Regions from separate parts of the Homo sapiens genome. Here regions 1 and 3 are each linked to region 2. Evidence: promoter capture Hi-C in human tissues and cell types (Jung and others, 2019). All regions are on one chromosome and are shown on one strand. The core of a region is centred on a gene start or on the middle of the fragment in contact, and the rest is flanking DNA. Distances in the headings are between cores, read along the strand shown.

Evidence for each region. The method cuts DNA at HindIII sites, captures the fragments that hold promoters and counts their contacts. A contact is called where the count stands out against the background at its distance.
Region 1: a fragment that was not itself captured here is called in contact with the fragment with the promoter of STMN2 in region 2 in 1 of the 25 tissues and cell types used here (lymphoblastoid cells).
Region 3: a fragment that was not itself captured here is called in contact with the fragment with the promoter of STMN2 in region 2 in 1 of the 25 tissues and cell types used here (dorsolateral prefrontal cortex).

The regions. Positions count from the first base shown.
Region 1 is chr8:80,257,114-80,259,813 of GRCh38, forward strand. No RefSeq gene overlaps it. Among named protein-coding and RNA genes, the nearest start is that of MIR5708, 17 kb to the left of the region's middle. The HindIII fragment of the contact is 4,365 bases long and covers 1-2,700 here.
Region 2 is chr8:79,609,692-79,612,391 of GRCh38, forward strand. STMN2 (stathmin 2) reads left to right here and starts at 1,426. Exons shown (of 5, transcript NM_007029.4): 1 at 1,426-1,523. The coding sequence starts at 1,505. The HindIII fragment of the contact is 1,951 bases long and covers 1-1,914 here.
Region 3 is chr8:78,723,106-78,725,805 of GRCh38, forward strand. It overlaps a transcript of IL7 not described here and the pseudogene C4orf46P3. Among named protein-coding and RNA genes, the nearest start is that of ZC2HC1A, 58 kb to the left of the region's middle. The HindIII fragment of the contact is 3,622 bases long and covers 1-2,700 here.

The sequences.
Region 1 (2,700 bases), core at 170-2,669, 650 kb after region 2:
TTGGTGACTAATTCATCCCTTTATTCACTAAACAAATATTTATCCAGTACTCCTCAGACAACCCCTCCCCCAACTAAATAGAAATGGTGTCTGTCCTCAAGTTGATCACAATGCAGCAGAAAATTCTAATTTAAATGTAATTCACCCAATGCCAGGTGGGGCTCCTGGAATCATAGGAAGGGCTCTGTTTTGGAGCCTGGGTTGTTGACCTTAAAGTCCAGCCTTCCAAATCCAGCCGATGACCTGAGACAAGTTACTTAACTTGTTACAACCTGTTTTCTCATATGTCTAAAAGCTGTGATGATAGTAATAGCTTACCTTTGTTGTAAGAGTTCTACAAACACATGTGACTCAGGAGAGGTACTGAGAGCTTCTAGTAAGAAGTCAACAAAGTATTATGGGAGTACAAAGGTAGTAACAATTTACCTCTCCCTCCAGGCACTGAGAGGGTGGCATCTGAAATGGATCTTGAAGGACACATAGGAATTGGCCAGGTGGAAAAGACAGGAGGTAAATATCAGGCAAAGGGAACAGTATATGCAAACTACTGAAGCGAGAAACAGCATAATGTTTTTTATTTTTTTGAGGCAGGGTCTCACTCTGTTGCCCAGGCTGGAGTACAGTGGCACAATCATAGCTCACCACAGCCTTGACCTCCCTGGGCTCAGGTAATCCTCCCACCTCAGCCTCCTGAGTAACTGGGACTACAGACACACACCACCATGCCCAGCTAATTTTTGTACTTCTTGTAGAGAAGGGTTTCACATAATGTATTCTTAGAACTTGAAAGATTTGGTCTTGAAATGACAAGAAATGTTGAAGGGTGAGGGGAATTCATCACCTTGCTGTCCCTGTTCCCTATGTAGCCTCAAAGCTCACTCCTCCACTCCTTCACTTGCAAATTCTGGCCGGCCTTCCTTCCTTCCTCTCTCTCTCTTTCTTCCTTCCTTTCTTTCTTTTCTTCCCAAAGTACTTACTGTATAATATCAATTTAATAGAAATGTACTTATTTCGTTGATAGTCCTCAGCACCCTCATCCTCCTTCCCCCACCTCCATACATAGATGAGAAACAGTTCCCAGAGGACAGGAATTTTTGTCTGTTTTCTTTACTGACATATTCCCAATGACTCACACACTGCCTGGCACAGAACAAAACAAGTCATTTAATTCATTCAACACATATATGGTGCCTACCAAGCAATGGCTTGCCACTGGGGCTCCGATGTTGAACAAGATGGGGTCTTGAAGTGTTAGGACCTCCTGAGGAGTCCCCTGGCCATTCTGTGAAGGCTTTATTTAGAAAGACCCCTCCCGCAGGAGCTTTGGCTGTTTCTTTAGTCTTTCTTTGCCCACTCCCTAAATACTTGCAAAATGTAAATCCTTAAAAAAAAAAAAGTAAATCTTTATGGGGTTGAGCCTACTTCCAGTAAGTCTCTTCCCTTTGTGGATTTCCTGTGTGTCTGGTGCTGGGGGAGGTGACTTTGGGAGTCCCAGGAGACTGCCAGGTGCCTGGGGGAGAAGATGTTGAAAGGACAGGGTAGGGGTTCAGGAATGGAGGCGCCCAGAGACAAGTAGCCTCTTTCACAACCAGGCCTGGGGCTGTTCCTGTGATTGGGTGTCTCAGCCAAGAATGTCCCCAGAATTCCAAGTCATTTTTAGATGCAGCTTTCTTCTCCTGTGTTCAATAGCCTTCACTAAAGAAGGTTTAAGAGAAGGGGGTTTTCGTGGGTAGCTGTGCTCTGGGGCCTGAGAAAAGGGGAAAGAGGATCAAACCTTTCTTTGGTGTTTTTTATTTTTGTTTTATGAAATATCACAAAATACATTAAAGAATAATTAACAACATAACAACTCATTTGCCAGTTAAATATCCATTTTTAGTTTTTGAAAACAAATGCTGACTGGATGTGGCAGCTCACGCCTGTAATTCCAACACTTTGGGAGGCTGAGATGAGCAGATCACATGAGCTTAGGAGTTCGAGACTGGCCTGGGCAACATAGTGAAATCCCGTCTCTACAAAAATACAAAAATTAGCTAGGTGCAGTGGTGCATGCCAGTAGTCCCAGCTACTCAGGAGGCTATGGCAAGAGACAGAGGTTGCAGTGAGCCAAAGTCATGCCACTGCACTCTAGCCTGGGTGACAAGACAGAAACCCTGTCTCAAAGAAAAAACAAAAAAAGAAGAAGAAGAAAAGAAAGAAAAGAGGCTGGGCACAGTGGCTTACGCCAATAATCCCAGCACTTTGGGAGGCCAAGGCAGACAGATCACTTGAGGTCAGGAGTTCAAGACTAGCCTGGCCAACATGGTGAAACCCTGTCTCTACTGAAAATACAAAAGCATTAGCTGGATGTGGTGGCACACAGCTGTAATCCCAACTACTTGGGAGGCTGAGGCAGGAGAATCGCTTGAACCTGGGAGGTGGAGGTTGCAGTGATCTGAGATCGCGCCACTACATTCCAGCCTGGGGGACAGAGTGAGACTCTGTCTCAAAAAGAAAAAGAAAGAAAGAAAGAAAGAATTAATTAATTCTAATGTTGTGCTTTACTTGCCTTTTTAAAGCTTTTAAAGCAATAAATAATTATACAACTTAACAAGAAATAACACCAAGAAAAATGTTAGAAGACAAGCTACAAACTATAGAGAGATATTTGCATGCTTATGACAGATAAAATAATTCCCATCCAGAATATATAAATAACTC
Region 2 (2,700 bases), core at 176-2,675:
AATACATTCATTTTTCTGAAATTAAAAACTTGCCAGGGTTTCATACCTGTTCATGATTGCAACAATGTGCTCTTCTTTTGGCTTTCAAACGTCGGAATTAGCAATTCTTTGCCTATTTTTCTAATATTAAAACCAGTTTCTGCATGGAATTAGACTGGCTCAATAAAGTTACAGAAGAGTTAAATTAGCAGTAATTAAAAACTTCATGCAGCAACTCCTAAACTTTTTCTCACCATTTTCAGAGCTGTGCACATGGTAAATGCTCAATACATATTTAAGTCAAGTGAAAGAGAACAAATGAATGACTGGCATCCATTAAGTGAGAAGGAGGAACTAATAAATGCCTTGTTTGTAATGAAAGTCATTTTTTGCAACTAGTCTCAAAGATCCTCACATACGACATTGCTCAATCCGAAACTTGAACACAGCCTTCCTGGGCCTACATAAACGTAGTCTCTCTGGATCTCAGAAAAATAATGACCCAGACCACACCTTTCATCTCTTCTAAGTTTTCCATGTAAAGCATTCTCCTTAGAGCCCTGGAAAGGTTACTAAAATTTTGACCCACTTAATCCTACACCTTCAGGGCAACATGGCATTCACCTGTGGTTTCCTTAATGCCCAAACCAGCCAGCCAACCTGTTTTCTGCCGTGTTAACAAATGGACAGGACACAGGCACCAGAGGTTAAACTTTCTTCCTCTTCCCCCATGTCCCCAGGTGGACCATTATTACCATCCCTATTCCCAAGCAACCAGGTAGCCCCTTCCTCTGTGCCAAGGGAAGAAAACACCATGCTTCCCTCTCCTGAGAGACCTTCAAGAGTTTAGAGACGCCTAAGTCCAGCTGTGCTAAAAGATAAAGGACAATAATGCAAGTCTGCTCTGAGCTGCCACCATAGCCAGACATAGGGTAGCCCTGAAAGACTAGAACCAAGGACAGAGCCAAAGGTGAAAGAAAATATGAAAAAGTGAAAACACAGTATTTAAACAGAATTTTCCAACAGCCTGCATATAGTGAGGACTTCTCAAGCTTCTGAATCCTTTTCCATTGAATTGTGCAATGGCACATGTATGAGCAAAGTCAAGCCTCCTGGCTCCCAGGTAGGCACAGCCCAGTTCTTAGCTCCTAGGAAGCTTCAGGGCTTAAAGCTCCACTCTACTTGGACTGTACTATCAGGCCCCCAAAATGGGGGGAGCCGACAGGGAAGGACTGATTTCCATTTCAAACTGCATTCTGGTACTTTGTACTCCAGCACCATTGGCCGATCAATATTTAATGCTTGGAGATTCTGACTCTGCGGGAGTCATGTCAGGGGACCTTGGGAGCCAATCTGCTTGAGCTTCTGAGTGATAATTATTCATGGGCTCCTGCCTCTTGCTCTTTCTCTAGCACGGTCCCACTCTGCAGACTCAGTGCCTTATTCAGTCTTCTCTCTCGCTCTCTCCGCTGCTGTAGCCGGACCCTTTGCCTTCGCCACTGCTCAGCGTCTGCACATCCCTACAATGGCTAAAACAGCAATGGGTAAGGCACTGCGCCTCGTTCTCCGTCGGCTCTACCTGGAGCCCACCTCTCACCTCCTCTCTTGAGCTCTAGAAGCATTCAGAGATATTTTATAAAGAAAAAGATGTTAATGGTAACACAGGACCAGGAAGGACAGGGCAGTTCTGGGGGAGGTGGGAGGGCAGAGAAGAGGTCTATGGAAATCTAAAGCGAAGAATTTCTTTTAAAAGGTAGAAGCGGGTAAGTTGCCCTCCTATGGGTAGAGAATTTATTCTGTTTCCATATTTAAAATTAGGACTCAATCGTGAGGGGAGGAAGCTACCTTAACTGTTTGCCTTAAATGGGCTTAAGGGACATTTTGGAAAGTGCTTTATAACGACCTTTTTTTTTTTTATTTCTTCTCTAGTTTAAGAAGAAAATAGGAAAGGGGTAAAGGGAAGGTGGGAGAAAGGAAAAAGAAAATTGCAAAGTCAAAGCGGTCCCATCCCGCTGTTTGAAAGATGGGTGGAGACGGGGGGAGGGGATGGAGAGAACTGGGCACATTTTACGGTATTGTCTCGTCGAAGAAACCGCTAGTCCTGGGGTGCGGTGCAGGGAGGTAAGACGGCGGGGGACAGGGTGGGGGTAGGACCTCCGCTCCTTTGTTTTAGGGCAAGGGAGGGGAAGGAGAGAGGAAGTCGCGGAGGGCGTGGAGGGCGCGGGTGGGCAGCTGCAGGGGCGGGGAAGCGCGCGGCAGGGAGGGGTGGAGGGACAGCGGCTTCGAAGGCGCTGGGGTGGGGTTTCTTTGTGTGCGGACCAGCGGTCCCGGGGGGAGGCACCTGCAGCGCTGGGCGCACAATGCGGACAGCCCCACCCAGTGCGGAACCGCGCAGCCCCGCCCCCCCGCCCGGTGCTGCATCTTCATTCGAAAGGGGGTCGGGTGGGGAGCGCAGCGTGACACCCAGGAGCCCAACCCTGCGGGGACAGCGGCGCCACGCCCCGCGCTCCCCGCTCCCGACTCCCCGCCGCGGCTTCCAAGAGAGACCTGACCACTGACCCCGCCCTCCCCACGCTGGCCTCATTGTTCTGCTTTTAAGAGAGATGGGAAAAGTGGGTTAACATTTTTCTTTTCGGAAGCAAATTACATAGAGTGTTTAGACATAGACACAGATAAAGGGTTCTTTGAAGACCTTTGATCGTTTGCGGGAAAAGCTTCTAG
Region 3 (2,700 bases), core at 166-2,665, 890 kb before region 2:
TATATATATTTAGAAGCCATCATCAAAGTTCAAATCTCTGTAAAGAGAATGTTTTTCCTCAAGTTAGTAAAGTTTGGATTCATACATTTTCTAGAGAAGCAATTACAATCTTCATGCTATATATAGGAAGAAAAATAGCTTTTAATTATGTTTGTCGACTCTTTTATTCAATAAACATTTAGTGACTATTGTGTGACACTGTTTTAGGTGCTAGGGATATAGAAATAAATCAGAAACAATCATTAGCCCTAGAGAACTAAACCTAATGGAACTGGATCTATCACTGGCAACCTTAAAATTACCTCCGTTTGTACTTAAGCTGAAGCTCAACTTCAAACTCTGACATGCTTGGCATCTTGTTGAAAATAAATAACGATCTACCTAGTTTGCCACTGGTAGCACTTTGGCACTATTAATATTAACTATATACTGATGAAATTAACTTTCATAAAGGATTATACAAAAGTTTAGAGGGCAGAAAATATTAATGGATAAACAAGTACTGGTCAGCAACAAAAATAGCGTCAGCCTTCTGCTTTCACAAAGGCCAAGAAAACCAAGAAAAATTTCATTCTGAGTATATACAGAACTGCTGGGAAGAGATCATTCTATACATGTAGTACATATGCAAATATCATATATGAGGAAGTATGAGTTATTACACAATCATTAATAACTAAGCATGCCAAATCAGTCATCAGGTTTCAAAGAATCATAGCCTTGTTTCAAGAGGTCCTGCCAGGTTTTAAGGAAACATGCATTTTCTGTACATTGGAAGACAAGCTATTCCACTTGAGCTGGTACTGCAGATGTGACCTCAAGAAATTTGGTTAATGAAAATGCTGCATCTCTGATCTGCATCTCCACTTTCTCCAGCAGGTCTACCATTTGGCCCTTGTTCCTGCTCAGAACTGGCCAGCCCAAACTCACTGGTTGCGTGGGAAAGATGCTAAAAGGTGTTTGAAGATGAGGAAGAAAAGGGAAGTTCTGGGAGCTGGTGAAGAAACCCACAACTCCTCAAGGTCAGCCATGGGGAAGAGCTAGGAGCTCAGAATCCAACCAGCAAGAGGACATTTTAAAACAGGTTCTTTTTTCTTTCTCTTTTTATCACCTATGATTTTAAGAGTCCAGGTAATACAAGCAAAGGTTTACTCCATAGAGCATAGAATAAAAACAGTTAATCTAAATATTTAAGAGGTATGTTGCCATGCTATTGTTGGGCTTGGGTGAATATATATTTACATTTCTGTATATCTACATATGTATGAAATATTTAGATCTGTTTTCATATATTTGCCTATTTAAAGCTTAATTTTTTAAAAAAGTTTTATTTTTCTCCTAATTATTGTTAAGGGGAACATTTTAAGAACTAGAAAGTTTTAAAAATATATATTTTTACTTATCTTCTCAAACTTATATTTCTTATAGGGAAAACTCATAAACTCTTCAAGAAACATCAGGAACTTAAAATTTTATTTTAAACATTAATTCCTTAACTGTGATTCATTTTGGAAACATGCTATTCAATTAACTATTAATTTGAAAATTCAAAAATAGGTTTTTCCATATGTCTTACTATCAATGAAATCAAAACGCCATTTGAATAAGCAACTTGTATGCTAGAGTAGCTTTATACCCTCTCTGAGGCAGTCTATTCTCATGCCGTTCCCTTTTAGTAAACACTGTCATGTTTCTCCCTCTTATATCAGTAGAAAGATTTTTTCTCACTGATGTCATTACCCGAAAGCTATTTTCAAGGAGGAAGAGGTCTTATCGTTTATTGGCTCAGATACCATATTTTAAGTAGAAAACATTGGACAATATAAAACACTGCCCAACTCCTGTCTTCTAGTGAAAAATTATTTTGATTTGTGATGTATTTCAAATCTAAATTTTGTTATTATCTGTAATGGGCATTTGTCATCATTGTGGCTAGCACCTTTTGAAAATCATATGTTTGGCAAATTTTCCATGGTGAAACTCTCACTGCATCAAAATTGTAGCTAGAATTTATAGTTTTCTATACTTTCTTACAGCGAGGGAGTATTCATGTGACTTGGGAACTACTGAACAGACTTGGATTCTGAAACAAATAATATGAAATGGACACTGCAGCCTCCATTTCCTAGTGAGGATGGTGGAGTTTAGTGGAGAGACACAGAGCTTCTAAGGTAGCTGTGGCAGAGCATCAAGAAGTGACACCCTTATTGCAACATGTGGCCTGTTCCCCATGGTAGCACTTTAACTGACTGTCCTCCCCTCCAAGTTTGGAGCTGTTCAGCCAGAAAGAGTGCCAAGTTGGTGATTATAACTTGGGCATTGTTTCTGGCTGAACAGCCTCCAAACTTGACTATCTGGCTCTCCCAGAGATTCTATGCATTTCCCAATAGCTTTTAGTTATTATTATTATTATTTGCTTAAACTGATTAGACTCGGATCTGCTGTTTGCACTCAAAAACTCTTCAACAACCAAATTTGGTCTAACTTGTGCTTTCCTTTTACAGTGGCTGTAGTAATGGGGGATGTGTTAAAATCATATTTTACAGGAAAGAATATTCAATATACTGAAACAAGACATCTTCCTTAACCCAATCGTAGTGTTAGATAACCACAGACTGAATTTAAGAAGTATGCTTTGAGTATAATTATATGTATCTTGCAGGATGAATTTGAGGATTATCAGTAACATGTATAAAATCT